Regions from separate parts of the Homo sapiens genome. Here regions 2, 3, 4 and 5 are each linked to region 1. The links are contacts of gene promoters, found by promoter capture Hi-C in blood cells and fetal thymus (Javierre and others, 2016). All regions are on one chromosome and are shown on one strand. Each heading gives the region's core, a stretch centred on a gene start or on the middle of the fragment in contact. The rest is flanking DNA. Distances are from core to core; before and after follow the strand shown.

Region 1 (2,803 bases), core at 304-2,803:
GTGAGTTATAAACACACACATGCCACATGGACACACTATTCGCAAAGACATCACACACGTGTACGTGTGGTACACACACACTCACTAGCCACCCTGAACCTCATAAAGGCTCCACCAGAAAACCTTCTTTGCAGTAGGCACAGGGAAAAAAATCACAGTCTTTAAAAGTACATATGAAGGTCTATCAAATCAGACTGGGGCATTTTAGAGAACTTCCTCGAGGTGCCACTTGAGTTACATTTTTTTTTCTTTGTACTGTGGAGTTCAAAAAGTTAAATCTTAAAGATAAACAGGAATTACTGTGGCAAAGGAGGAGTGTGGAGAAAGGAGAGTCAAGAGGGAACAGGCTAACATATTTAGGAAACTGCAAGTATTTCTGTAGGCTGTCATGAAGAGTTTTTGGCAGGGTCAGGCAGGATATACAGCCAGAGAGTAGGCAGAGCCCAAATGCCAATAGGTCTGATGTGCTGAGCTGAGAGATTACAATTCTATCCTGAAAAGGAGCCACTCAGCACTTTTAGGCACAGATATGACGTCAAATCTGCATTTTAGAAAAATGGATTCAGTAGCACAGAGGATGGACTGATAACAAGGGATGAGGTGGAGAACACTGAAAAGACTTTCAACAATCTGGAGAAGAAATTCGGAGTTTGAACTCCTAGTGGCAGTGGGAAGAGAAAGAGTATTTAAGCGAGTTTAAGAAGTGAGGAGGAAATAGTGCCATTCACTACAATAGAAAACATAAAGGCCAATGTTTAGACAGGATGGATGAAAGATAATTTATACCTTTTGGCTTTTGGAGTTTGAGGTGTCTCTGGGACACCAGGTGATATCCAACAGGTGTTTGAATATGTATGTGCATGTATATTATTTATTGTTATTTAAGCTTGCAAGACATCTGGGCTGGAGATATAAATTTGGGTGTCATCAATTTACAGGTAGTAATTAAAACAATGAGTGTGGATGAACTCACCCAGAGAAAGTGTAATGCCAGATTTGTGGGCCAAAACAGCTCTGAGGAGCTCCAACTCGAAGCAGTTGAAGGCTTACATTTAAACATTCTCCCAGGAACAGTGGGTGAAGTGAAAAAGGGGTGAGGAAAGGGCCCTGGAGATCACCAACATTTAGGGGTGGAGGTGAACAGATGAGAAGAGAGAGGCAGAGGTGCAGGAGGAGAAGCCAGAATGGGGGTGTCAAGTATAAAGAAATGGGTAGCGTCAAATGCTTCAGAGGTTAGAGAAAATGACAGGAAACTCCCCCTGTTAGATTTGACATCTAGAAGGCTGTCGGTGTGGCCAGGGTGAGGTCAGTGGAGTAGTGAAGGTGCGGGTTTCCGGCTGTTGGAGAAACCTCTTCCACTAACTACATTGCACTCTGAGTTACCAACTGGCATGGTCCTCCCCCCATTTCACACGCACGCTACAGTCGCCCGTGCGCACTCGTACACACCAGGTGGCTAACAGGTACGAGGCGTTTCCGGACAGCGAGCGCAGAGCCCCCGCGCACGCGCCTCCGAGCCGGCCTCTTCCGCCGCAAGTCCCTCCCCAAGCCTGCAGAGTGCGCTGCGTTTCGATGAGCCGGGACGTGGCGCCGCTCTAGCCAGCGCCTGGGCTCTGTGGCGGGCGCCGCAGCTCCGCGTCCCCCGCGCCTCCTCCCAGCGCAGGTGGGTCCGCCCGCGGGGGGCGGGGGTGCCCGGGAGCCGTGGGACGGGCGGGTAGCGGCAACCTTTGGGGAGCAGAGTGGTCCCCAACGCCCAGGTGCCCCGGCTCGCGCTCTGGCCCGGGCGAATCGGGCTATAGGAAGGGCCACACGGATGGAAGTCCTAGTCCGGGTGCTCACCTCTTGTGGAACGTGCAAAGCCTGTCCCAGGACCTCTTTACACTCTGGGGGTCTCTGCCCAGGCACGCTTGCTGCTTCCGGACACAGCTGTGGGCGGAGCTAGTAGGGGCGGGGCTACGTGATTGACACTTCTCTCCTCAGACTTCAAGGGCTACCACTGGACCCTTCCCCTGTCTTGAACCCTGAGCCGGCACCATGGTGAGAACCCTGAGCCCAGCCCTTCACCTCCGCAGGCCCGCGCCCTCACCCCCAGTGGCAGTGCCATGGTTGCCCCGTATGAACCTAGGGCTCCACAGTGTGGGGTTTTTGCAGGTCAGCTTCTGCAAGGCAACCTGCACTCTTCCAACCCGTTCATCCTTGTAGCACGGACGCCTGAAGGTGAAGACGTCAGAAGAGCAGGCGGAGGCCAAAAGGCTAGAGCGAGAGCAGAAGCTGAAGCTATACCAGTCAGCCACCCAGGCCGTATTCCAGAAGGTGGGGCCCTCAGAGGTAGCCCCGACCCCAAGTAGCTCCCTTAGTATAGTGCAGAGGCCAAGAGCTGGTCCCTAGAGTCAGACTGCCTAGATCCAATTCTGGGTTATCTCACTTATAACTGTATGACTTTGGGCAAGTTGCTGAATCTCTTTGGGCCTCAGTTTGCTCATCTGTAAAATGGGGCTAATAATTGCACCTACTGCATAAGGCTGTTGTGAAGATTAAATGAGAGAATACCTGTAAGGCCATAAAGCATGGTTCATAGTACCTGTTGTATAATGTGGGATTCACAGAATATTGGATGGTTTTAAGTTTACGTTATTTAGTCCTGTAGTGGGAAAATTATATGATCTCTAACCCTGCCACCTATCTTCTTAGCGCCAGGCTGGTGAGCTGGATGAGTCCGTGCTGGAACTGACAAGCCAGATTCTGGGAGCCAACCCTGATTTTGCCACCCTCTGGAACTGCCGACGAGAGGTGCTCCAGCAGC
Region 2 (2,803 bases), core at 183-2,682, 210 kb after region 1:
GATTGAGATTGGAGGCAGAAGGCCAGGCACAGTGAGGTGGCCAGGGGAGTACAGATCAGTGGAAGGGGACAGTGTTGTGCAGGTTTAAGGGCAGGGCCCAGGTTATTAAGGAGGAGCAGGGAGCGGGGGGCTCACAATGTTGGTCCCAAGTTCATCATCTGTGGTCTCCTCATGGTCATGGTTCCGGCCTCGGCCCCGGGAGGACAGATCCTGCCCTTGGCCTGGGCACCCTGGTGGATCTGACAGCGTCCTTAGCTGGGTCAGGTGCCGGGCCTGGGGAAGGGCAGGTGTGAACAGAATTCCATGGAAGCTGCCCACCTCCCAGGGCCTTGAAGGGGAGGGTGATTAGGGAGACAGGATAATGTGGGGTGGAGGGCGTGCCCGAGCCAGGCCAGGCTGCAGAAGAAGCCTTACCAGGCTCTTGTGGGAATGGTAGAGCTCTTGCAGGATCTCATCCACTATGGAGCTGGTTAGGTAGGTGACGACTGAGAGCTTCACTTCACTGTGGGCACAGGTGGGGCTACTCAGAACATTAGCACCTCAGTCCCCCGCATGGCCCCTGAGGCACTCCCTCTCCCAGAAGCCTGAGAGAACGGCCAGCTGGCCTGGTCTGTCTGCCCATGGAGCGCATGTGGCTGCTGAAGGAGGCAGCCTAGCCCTTGACACTCATTTCTCCACAAATACACGTCTAGTCCCACCCCAGAGCCCCCAGCCCAACTATGTGTGGGGAAAGAGGAATTCGAGGAGAAGGAGCAAGGGGGCCCTAGGTCAGGCCCCTGGAGCCCCAGTGGAACAGAGCTAGGTAATTGGGGTGCTGAGTAACTAAACCCTGCTAGTTGCTACTGTGAGGGTAGGAAAGACCCTTCCTTGGGCCTAGCTGTTTCATAGGTATGTGTACTAGTTTTCCTTTGGTTTGGTGAGTGGTGGCACCCAGACCCAGAATGAAAGAACTCTAGGGGCAATGAAAACTGGGAGGAAGACAGTGCTTCCATGCACCCAACTCAGGTACTTTTCTTTGTCCATGCCTCCGAGGAGGCCCTGCTATCCCATTCCTGGTGTATTTGTGTGGGTATGTGTGTGTACACCTGTGTGGGCACAAACTTGGCTCCTAAACCCCAGCTCAGCACTTAGATTTCTAGGGCAAAGACCAGCCAGACCCTAAATAGCAAGGTTGCACTTGGTTAAAGATTGATCCTTGTAATGGAGATTGTGCCATTCATTATTCATTGCTGATAGCTCTCCAGTCCTAAGTCCCTAAGTGATCTGGGCCAAATCCAGCTCAGCCCCAGCCCTGCCCTTTGCCTCTCACTCCAGCTTGTTCTGAATGTCCTGTCCTGCTTGCTCCAGCAGTGCCCCTCGGATGAAGTTCCGGGGCACAGTGACACGCTCCGCCACATTGCTCAGCATCTTGTTGTGTCCCTCGGCCACCCGCATGGCCACAGGGCATAACTCCTGTGTCAGGCTGACCATGGACTCCAGGATCACCTAGTATGGGGGAAAGGGAGGCCAGAGGCCCAAGGGGGACAGGATCAGGGCTGGCACCACAGCAGAAGAGACTTTATCTATTCCAGCCCCTCCTGCTGAGACTGAGGGACCTGCCTAAGTCACAAAACTGTTAGTGGCAGAGCCTTGGACACTAAGGCTTCCCCACTTTCTGGTCAGTGCTCCTTCCACCCTACCATACAGACAGGGGCAGTCAGTCCAAGGATCCAAATCCAGAGCAGGGAGGTCAGAGTTCAGGGACCAACATCAAAGCTAGCAGAAAAAAATCCAAGCCTGATATTGCAGCAATGCCTTGGTACAGTGGGAGCGTGGGTGGTCTCAACTCTGCATGTCCTCCTGGCCCTCCAGAAGTCTCCCAGCTCTGACTTTAGCTCTGGGCTTAGGGCCTCAGTCAACACTAGGTTCCCACCATGGATTCCTCCCTCCTCCAGGACTTGCCTGCAGCTCCTTGTCCACAGCTTTGGACACCTCACTTGCTACTGATTCCAGCCTCTGCCGCACAGGCCCATCATTGGCCAGCACGTGGCCCAGCTCATAGAGGCTGGGAAACAGCTGGAGAAGGAAGGGGTTATGATTAGCAGGCCAGAACCAGGACTTGCTAGGTCTCTGGGGTCCCTGGGCTAGGAAGGCAGATGCACAGGGCAGGGCTGTCATGGCTTAGCATGGTCGGCCTTCTTGGGTTCTCCAGACTTCAGGGGAAGGGTAGCCTGTGGAGGGCTCACCGCCCGGGAGTTCTTGGCATCTTTGATGAGGTCCCGAGCGTAGAGTAGCTCATCCTGCACAGGCTCCAGGGGGCATAGTCTCAGGGCCCGCACCTCCTCCTGCACTCGTCCACACAGCCGCTGCAGCATCTGGAGCACAGTGGCAGGGGTGTCAAGGGGACCCCTGCTTCCACATCTTCGCAGGTAGGACCCCTTAGACAGTGCTACTGGTGCTGGCACCGACAGTGGTGGAGGTGATGTCTCTGGCTGGCCTGGTCCCCATTGCTACAGCCTTCTTGAATGCCCAGCTGAGCTCCCAGAGTCCTGTGCACTCCTGCTGTTCGCCCACATATGTTTGAAGCCCATATCCTGCATGTCCTCTCTTTTTGCTTCCCCACATGCTCAGTCCAGTGATAGGCACCATGCAGTGCCTCTTCATGCTCCCCCACTCAATTTTCCATCACATCACACTGTGCCCTGCATGCCCCGGGTATGCCCCGTGTCCCAGAGGGAAACGTTTACTTGCTCGGCGCTGCTGGTCACCAGGCCCTGCTGCAACCTGAAGGCCTGCTCCTGGGGGCACGTCTGGGAGTGGTTGT
Region 3 (2,803 bases), core at 82-2,581, 190 kb after region 1:
GCCCAGGCGAGGAAGCCTGGCTTCTCTGTGAGCACATACGTGGGTCCTCGGCAGCTCCCTCCAGGCTGTCTGGGCCTCCAGACCTGCACAGGGTGCTCCTGCCACCTCCCACCTCTCTGAGGGCTGAGGTGAGACTTCTCCTGGGATGACAATTTGCTGAGAGAGTGCAGCTTTTGTGAATTAAACTTGAAGTCCAGGCAGAATTCTAATGCAATAAGCTAAATGTTCTTGCAATTTAAGAAGTGTTCATTCTTTATCCCTGCTTCAGGCTACTGTTTGTGTGTCTGTGTGTGGGAGAGGGAGAGAGAGGGAGAGAGAGAGAGAGCAAGAAAAAGGGAAGTCCCCACCTGGAGCTGGGTGGCACATCTGTTATGGAGAGCCAATGGAAATGGGGTGGAGGGGCAGGCATTGGAACAGATGGATCCTCCCCCTCTCACCACCACCACCACCAAACTCAGAAGCCTCAGTGGCCCAGCTCGGCCTGTCAGTGGCTATCCAGGTCTCACAGTTTCCATGGTAACCCAGTCCTCCAGTTCAGCAGGCTAAGGGGAGGGCAGATGGGGCCTCTGGGCAGAGCACAGGCGTTGTGCTGGGAGCAGCCGCCTCACGAGTTACTGTCATCTGTCCTCTACCGGACATAATAAATGGGAGAAGCTTTCGGGCATGGGGGAAGAGGCTCCCATATGTCCCTCTTCCTTTCTACCCCCTCTCTCCACCCCCTCCCCAGCTGTCTCTTCTCTTCCCATCACAGTTCTTGCTCCCTCTTTCCCCTCCTCTATCCCAGCTCATCCCTCCTCCGCTTAGGAGCCTGCAATGGGAGTCCTCTCCTCCATCGCTCTCAGAATTTCTCTCGTCTCCTCTCCCTTCCCCACCATTGGCCACTGGCCATCCTCTCTGGCTCTGGATTCTCTCTCTGAGGGGCTCACAGAACCTTTAGCTTCTCTTTCTTCATCCCCTTCCACACTCATTGTTGAAGGGAGAGGATGGGGCAGGGAGGGTCCTTCCGGGAGCCCAGCTCTTTTTCTCTCACTCTAAATTTCACCTGTGTCTATCCTTGCCTGCCCTGGAGCTGTAATTCAGACCCACTACTTTTCTTGTTCACTTTTCTCACCTGCATGGCACACAAAGACAGACAGAACCATCCATAGACACCTGAGCACACAACTAGGCCACATATACAGTACCATACCTGGGTCTCAAAATGATACTCCTGGGTTACCTGAGTATACTTAAAAAAACAAAGTTGCACACTGTGGTGATTAAGAGTAGTGCTTTAGGTGGGGCGCAGTGGTTCCTGCCTGTAATCCCAACACTTTGGGAGGCCAAGGAGGAAGTTTGAGACCAGCCTGGGCAACATAGCGAGAACCCTGTCACTACAAAAAAATAAAATAAAATAAATTCAGATGTAATGGCATGCACCTGGAGTCCCACCTACCCAGGAGGCTAAGGTGGAAGGATAACTTGAGCCCAGGAGTTCGGGGATGCAGTGAGCCATAATCGTGCCACTGCATTCCAGCCTGGGTGGCAGAGTGAGACCCTGTTTCAAGTTGCAGTTCTACCAGTTTTTTGACCATGGGTGGGTTAAAATCAAGCCTCACTTGATTGTCAGAAAAATGGTGAAAATAATGGTAACCACCTACTGAGAATAAATGCATTTAAATAAGCACTTAGCATAAAGTTGACACATGCTACGTAATGATATTTGCTGTTGTTGCTGATGTGATTGTTAAGTGTGTGAATCTGTGTGTTCATGCACTGCACATCCCTGAGTCCATGAGTGTGACCCATTAAGGCCATGAACAGACACACACATTGACACACCCGGGAAACCAGACTGTATAGGCCTTAGATGCTCCACTATGTTCCCAATTCACTAGCAGACCTGCTGCCCTCCTTCAGTATCCCCCAGCACCTGCTCTTGGCCCGCCCCACAGCTGTGTGGGGGCTGGGGTTCAGCTCCTGGGGGACTCAGCAGGGCCTCTCTGGAGACAGCTATAAGAAAGCTTCAGCCTGCCCTCCTGACAGCCCGTAATTATCCTCCTATCTCCTGTAATTATTCTCCATGGTGCCTAGACCCCCTGGGGTTGGGAGGTGAGGGAGGGGGCTCCTCAGATCCCACTGGCACATAGCTGGGGTAAGACTGCAGAGACAGCAGCCTGCCTGGGGAGCTCTGTCTCAGATTTTGAAAGGTGCTGGTCCTCATTTCTTATGGTGTGTGTGGGGGTGCTGCAGGCTGCCCAGTGGGCATCTGAGGCATGATGGTTAGAGGCTGAGGTGCTAGGAGCAGTTCTCTTTATTAATGGCTAGAAAGTCAGGATCACCCAAGGAAGTCACTGAGGGGCCACAGCATTGAAGGGTATGGGGTTTGGAGAGATAGGAGCAGGACCCACCACTCACGTCCAGAACCCAGGGGGCACACCTGGTCCAAGAGGTGGAGGCATTGGTCACTGGAGTCACGAGGGTCAGGACAGGCACCTGGGAGGGGGTGGGAGAGTCATAAGCACTCTCTTCTACACTACACCCAGCCTAGTTGGGCTCTACCAAGCCCCACTTTGCACCCCCTGTGTCCACTCCTTTGGAAGCCCCAGGACTCACTGAGAGGCTGAGGGAGTGTCGGTCCGGAGGGAGGCAGTCACGGGCTAGGGCTGGGAGTCGTAGCCAGTGTGCAGGGCCTGGGAGCCCCAGGGCTGATGCCCTGGCTGGCGTAGTACTCCACCACCTGCCGTGGCACCTCAGCCAGGACACACTTGGCGAGTGCAGAGGGGGCAGCCTAGGGTGGGGACAGTGATGTGGTTAGGGGTGA
Region 4 (2,803 bases), core at 197-2,696, 180 kb before region 1:
CTCTTCAAGGAGAACTACAAACCACTGCTCAATGACATAAAAGGGGACACAAACAAATGGAAGAACATTCCATGCTCATGGATAGGAAGAATGAATATCATCGAAATGGCCATACTGCCCAAGGTAATTTACAGATTTAATGCCATCCCCATCGAGCTGCCAATGACTTTCTTCACAGAATTGGAAAAAACTACTTTAAGGCTCATATGGAACCAAAAAAGAGGCCGCATTGCCAAGACAATCCTAAGCCAAAAGAACAAAGCTGGAGGCATCATGCTACCTGACTTCAAACTATACTACAAGGCTACAGTAACCAAAACAGCAGCGTACTGGTACCAAAACAGAGAGATAGACCAATGGAACAGAACAGAGCCCTCAGAAATAATACCACACATCTACCACCATCTGATCTTTGACAAACCTCACAAAAACAAGAAACAGGGAAAGGATTCCCTATTTAATAAATGGTGCTGGGAAAACTGGCTAGCCATATGTAGAAAGCTGAAACTGGATCCCTTCCTTACACCTTATATAAAAATTAATTCAAGATGGATTAAAGACTTAAATGTTAGACCTAAAACCATAAAAACCCTAGAAGAAAACCTAGGCAATACCATTCAGGACATAGGCATGGGCAAGGACTTCATGTCTAAAACACCAAAAGCAATGGCAAAAAAAGCCAAAATAGACAAATGGGATCTAATTAAACTAAACAGCTTCTGCACAGCAAAAGAAACTACTATGAGAGGGAACAGGCAACCTACAGAATGGGAGAAAATTTTTTGCAATCCACCCATCTGACAAAGGGCTGATATCCAGAATCTACAATGAACTCAAACAAATTCACAAGAAAAAATCAAACAACCCCATCAAAAAGTGGGTGAAGGATATGAACAGACACTTCTCAAAAGAAGACATTTATGCAGCCAACAGACACATGAAAAAATGCTCATTATCACTGGCCATCAGAGAAATGCAAATCAAAACCACAATGAGATACCATCTCACACCGGTTAGAATGGCAATCATTAAAAAGTCAGGAAACAACAGGTGCTGGAGAGGATGTGGAGAAATAGGAACACTTTTACACTGTTGGTGGGAGTGGAAACTAGTGTGGAAGGGAGTGTGGTGATTCCTCAAGGATCTAGAACTAGAAATACCATTTGACCCAGCAATCCCATTACTGGGTATATACCCAAAGGATTATAAATCATGCTACTATAAAGACACGTGCACATGTATGTTTACTGTGGCACTATTCACAATAGCAGAAACTTGGAACCAACCCAAATGTCAATCAATGATAGACTGGATTAAGAAAATGTGGCACATATACACCATGGAATACTATGCATCCATTAAAAAGGATGATCCATTGTAGGGACATGGATGAAGCTGGAAACCATCATTCTGAGCAAATTCTCGCAAGGACAAAAAACCAAACACTGCATGTTCTCACTCATAGGTGGGAACTGAACAATAAGAATGCTTGGACACAGGGTGGGGAACATCACACACCGGGGCCTATTGTGGGGTGGGTGTGGGGGGAGGGATAGCATTAGGAGGAATACCTAATGTAAATGATGAGTTAATGGATGCAGCACACCAACATGGCACATGTATACATATGTAACAAACCTGCACATTGTGCACATGTACCCTAGAACTTAAAGTACAATAAAAAATTTTTTGAATTAAAAAAATTTTAATTTTTCAAAGTTCAGGTTGGTTCTTTTATCAATTCTGCTGGTATTTTTTGATAGCATCTTGTCTCTTTCTCATGTTTTTAATTTCTTCTCTTTCTTAAACGTTTTAAACTTTGGTAATTTTATATTCTATACCTCTAAATTCTAACACTTTAAATCTTTGTCTAAATCTGCTGTTTTCTGTTTCGGTTTGGTTTGATTTTATTTGACACCCTCAGAGTGCTTTGTTTCCTTGTGTGTTTTGTAATTTTGTATTGTATGTTTATGCTTGGCAGGATTTTATCTATTGAAATCCTGTGAAACCAAACCAAGGGAAGATTTATGTCTTCTATCTGGAACACTTAATTTAAATTCTTGGGTTAGAGCTTTCTAGGCCAAGTAGGTAACAATTAATTCAAACCACAAATATGCAGGCGGACAGGACAATAGATACAACTTCTCAAAGAACGGTAATTTTTTTGACAACCAATCCTAGACAAGAGCAAAGCCTAGAGAAACAAGTTTCCAGGCCATGTTCTTTGATACCAGGTGGACTTTTAAAGTTTACTTTTTATCTGAGAACACAGCCCAAGGGCTTTATCCAGGGGTCTCAGTCCCAAATTTGCTTCGATCTCAGGCATGGTCTCCTGTCACCCAAGCCTCTGGGTTACTGAAACTAAAAGTCACAAAATACCTGTTAAAGAAAATTATTCAGTGACACTTGATAGAGTAAGGTAAGGAAGACTTTCCATCACAATAGGTACAGGTACCACTACAATGTGGTCTTGCAGTGGGAGAGATTGGGGTCAAGTATGAAACAACATGGGCAAGTGGGAATTTATAGCCAACGAATACGGTGGGGGTCAGTGGATGAAAAATTAGTAAGAGAAAAATATCAAGGGTAAGAGGGATTCTGGCTAACCCAAACTAACGGGATTCATGTGAAGATAGGCCAAGGTGATCAGACATCACCTAGGGGATGAAGGATGAGGGGCCTGATCAGAGATTGAGAGTGATCAGATATCAAGGGTTGAGGGGGTTCTTGCTAAACTGACTTAGCAAGGCTCTTTGCGAAAACTGGATTTTACAAAGAGGTGTACAAATGAGCCTAGAAGGTT
Region 5 (2,803 bases), core at 155-2,654, 130 kb before region 1:
AGCCACTGGAGAGCAGTTTTCCAGCAAACCAAGTAAGAAAGAAGCAAAGACCATCTCCAGGATGACGGTGAAGAGAAATCTCAGAATTTATTCATCCATTCGACAAATAATTCTTGACTACATGCCAGGCACTGTTTTAGGGTGACAATGGTCATTACACAGGACAGCTAGTTCAGATTGGAGGGTATGACTCAAGAGACAGGCATGTTGAAAGCAGGCATCTGCATACACTTTGCTGCTGCACCATCTTTTTAACTTGAGGCTACAGAGGGATGTGTTCCATCAACCCAAGAAAGAAAAAGTTTCAAGGTCCAGGACATGAGTATCTAGCAAAGAAAAAAGGCAAAGGATGCCAAGAACGACAGCTGTGTCAGCCTGGAAAGCAACTGACCAGACAGGAGAGACGGCGCCAAGAAAAAATTTAGAACCAAAAGAACACCTTGAACTGATAGACTGACCTTGTAGAAAACTGTACTGAGAGGCTACTGGAAGTGGTAAGAATTAACAATAGGTACAAAGAAAGGCAAATTGAAAAACAAGGAGTGCTTAACCTCAATGACCTCAGTAAAACCCAAAAAGTAAGAAAGAAAACAAAATCATAGTACACTTCAGTGCTTCGATGTGAACGCTATGTGCAAGGCATAATGAGGCAATGCTAAACGTAGATTTAGCAGGTAATTGAAACAGAACTATCTTGAGAAGAGGGGCTGGCCGTGAAAGGGAGCTCAATCCTCACATACGATAATGGGACCAAAAAAAGATAGCAGCAAACGTCAATTAATTAAAAGACAATAGTGTCTACATATTCTTTTAGAAATGTGGAGATGCGTAAATGCCAGAGCAAATACTGTCAGTGGGGATGGTTACTGAAGGAGGAATTGGGAGGGCCGGGGCAGGGAACCTCTGTGTGCTCTTCTAAGCCTTTTGGTAAAATTGGACTTTTCAAATGTGTATTACTTTGATAAAAGAAAATTTAAGTTTAAAGAAAAAGAAGTATTCAGTGCCCACAACACAAGCAGGTGTCCTGGTAAATGTTTAACAATCAGCTGGGGGTGGGGGGTAACCTTGATTTGTCGCATTTGCCAATTTCTGTGGCATAAATACTCCCACCATGGCTGTAAATACTCCTCCACTCACTTGCACAATTCCCGAAATTTTAACAGTGGGTCCATAGGAGCCAACTCCAGGCACTGACCGCAACCAACTCTCAGGGTACTGCTCACAGTTAGTGTGCAGCAAAGATAGTTCAACTTCCATCTGACAGCCAAGCCAGATGTCAGCAGGCCACACCCTGTCCCAGAGCTCCAGAACCCAGTCTCCAGAAGGTACTCTTGCCCACCACCACTGCCTTTAGGCTCCCCATCACCTCCCGCAGTGGTCACCTCTCTTCTCTGCCGCCCACCCCATCCTCACCTCACTGCCAAAGGGGAGAAGGGTGGAGCAGGGCTTGTCCCGGGCCTCTTCTGATCATTACTAAAACCCGCCTCTCCACTCACTGATTTCACCTCAGAGAGGCCTCCCCAGTGTTTGTTTTGCTGCCTGGGTATGTGTTTCACAGTAATGTCTTCAGTGTTCTTTAATCCCACCACAACAAAACAATTTTAAAGCACTCAAGATTTACAGAGATTTTCCTGAGAAACCAACCACATAGAAACACACTCAGGCCCTTCTCTAGATGAGCCTGTATCCTTCTCGACCCCTCCTCCCCTCAGACCCCAACAAGCCACCCTCACCATCAGCCCTCCCCCAGTCCTGCAACCTGTAGTCTCCCAGAGTCCTCTCTGCCTGTTGGCCTATGTTCAGTATGCCACTAACAAAGTGCATGATTCTGTGTCCCTACAGCTGAGATTGGGGCCAGCCACGCTGCCTCCCTATGAGAACCACAAGACATCCTTACACTTGGGAAATGTTCATGTGTCAGATCGCTGGACCTCAGACAGCATTTAATCCAAGACTTCCACTTTACAAACAGGGAGATCGAGACTCAGAGAGGGAAAAGGACTTGCTCAAAGTTACGCAGCTAGTCAAAAACAATAGTAGCTAACATCTATACTCTATAGCTCTCCACATTTTATAACAGTATTGTAACATGCATGATTTCAGCAGACTCTCACAAACTCTTCATGAACCAGGTATTATTATAGTCTGTTCCATAGATGAGGGAAATGGCTCAAGAGAGGATAAATTATTTGATCTGATCACCCAGTTCAGATAGTTAACAGGTAGCAAACCCCAGTCTCAAACTCTCCTCACCATACCCCTCCTATCTTGGTTGTAACTTGGTGACAGCATATCAAACCCAGATCCCCTAACCCCTGAGACAAAACTTTAACCCCCCCCGCCCCTCACCTTCCCTGTCCTCCTTCTCCAAATTGCCAACAAAGTCTCCTTTATGGTCATTGTGTAAAATAAGGCAGGGAGCTACCCAGAATCCCCTCACGCTGGGTTCCCACTTTTCAACAATGCCTTTCCCAAAGGGAAGACAAAGGGGGAGTGGAGGAACAGGGCTAGGAATCAAGGGAGCCACTGATTCCATTAGCTGGGCCTACAGTGGGAGCCTGAGGTGTGAGATCTGCGGTCCGAAGAACCCTGAAGCAGCAGAGGGAGACGGAGCAGGTAGGCCTGGAGAAGCCAATCCAGGATTTGAGCAAGGAGGGGGTGGCGGGGGTACCTCCGAAAGTGTGAGTCCTGGCCCGGCACAGTGGTTCATGCCTGTAATCCCAGCACTTTGGGAGGCCAAGGCGGGTGGATCACCTGAGGCCAGGAGTTCAAGACCAACCTGGCCAACATGGTGAAACCTCAT

Evidence for each region. Contacts are between HindIII fragments. The CHiCAGO score rates a contact against its expected background, and 5 or more counts as called.
Region 2: a fragment that was not itself captured here is called in contact with the fragment with the promoter of RABGGTA in region 1 in 1 of 17 cell types (activated CD4 T cells); the score reaches 5.3 in activated CD4 T cells.
Region 3: a fragment that was not itself captured here is called in contact with the fragment with the promoter of RABGGTA in region 1 in 2 of 17 cell types (activated CD4 T cells and total B cells); the score reaches 5.9 in activated CD4 T cells.
Region 4: a fragment that was not itself captured here is called in contact with the fragment with the promoter of RABGGTA in region 1 in 2 of 17 cell types (neutrophils and naive CD8 T cells); the score reaches 5.6 in neutrophils.
Region 5: a fragment that was not itself captured here is called in contact with the fragment with the promoter of RABGGTA in region 1 in 5 of 17 cell types (total CD8 T cells, total CD4 T cells, naive CD8 T cells and 2 more); the score reaches 7.9 in total CD8 T cells.

Annotation. Positions count from the first base shown.
Region 1 is chr14:24,270,347-24,273,149 of GRCh38, reverse strand. It overlaps RABGGTA (Rab geranylgeranyltransferase subunit alpha), which reads left to right and starts at 1,553. Exons shown (of 17, transcript NM_182836.3): 1 at 1,553-1,663; 2 at 1,981-2,037; 3 at 2,203-2,313; 4 at 2,692-2,803. The coding sequence starts at 2,035. It also overlaps a transcript of NOP9 not described here. RefSeq lists enhancers at 1,206-1,285, 2,026-2,235 and silencers at 1,376-1,475, 1,546-1,835. The HindIII fragment of the contact is 2,930 bases long and covers 889-2,803 here.
Region 2 is chr14:24,060,179-24,062,981 of GRCh38, reverse strand. CARMIL3 (capping protein regulator and myosin 1 linker 3) reads right to left here. Exons shown (of 40, transcript NM_138360.4): 24 at 2,727-2,803; 25 at 2,226-2,354; 26 at 1,942-2,055; 27 at 1,310-1,485; 28 at 415-502; 29 at 136-273. Among named protein-coding and RNA genes, the nearest start is that of CARMIL3, 9.6 kb to the right of the region's middle. The HindIII fragment of the contact is 4,487 bases long and covers 1-2,803 here.
Region 3 is chr14:24,077,560-24,080,362 of GRCh38, reverse strand. CPNE6 (copine 6) reads right to left here. Exons shown (of 17, transcript NM_006032.4): 16 at 2,596-2,770; 17 at 2,276-2,475. The coding sequence ends at 2,633. NRL (neural retina leucine zipper) reads left to right here. Exons shown (of 3, transcript NM_001354768.3): 3 at 1-1,701. Among named protein-coding and RNA genes, the nearest start is that of CPNE6, 7.4 kb to the right of the region's middle. RefSeq lists an enhancer at 2,756-2,803. The HindIII fragment of the contact is 1,349 bases long and covers 657-2,005 here.
Region 4 is chr14:24,446,467-24,449,269 of GRCh38, reverse strand. The region is part of intron 2 of LOC101927045 (a long non-coding RNA gene); the gene reads right to left. Among named protein-coding and RNA genes, the nearest start is that of SDR39U1, 5.1 kb to the right of the region's middle. The HindIII fragment of the contact is 4,219 bases long and covers 1-2,803 here.
Region 5 is chr14:24,400,976-24,403,778 of GRCh38, reverse strand. All of the region lies in intron 2 of NYNRIN (NYN domain and retroviral integrase containing), which reads right to left. Among named protein-coding and RNA genes, the nearest start is that of NYNRIN, 3.4 kb to the right of the region's middle. The HindIII fragment of the contact is 4,166 bases long and covers 1-2,803 here.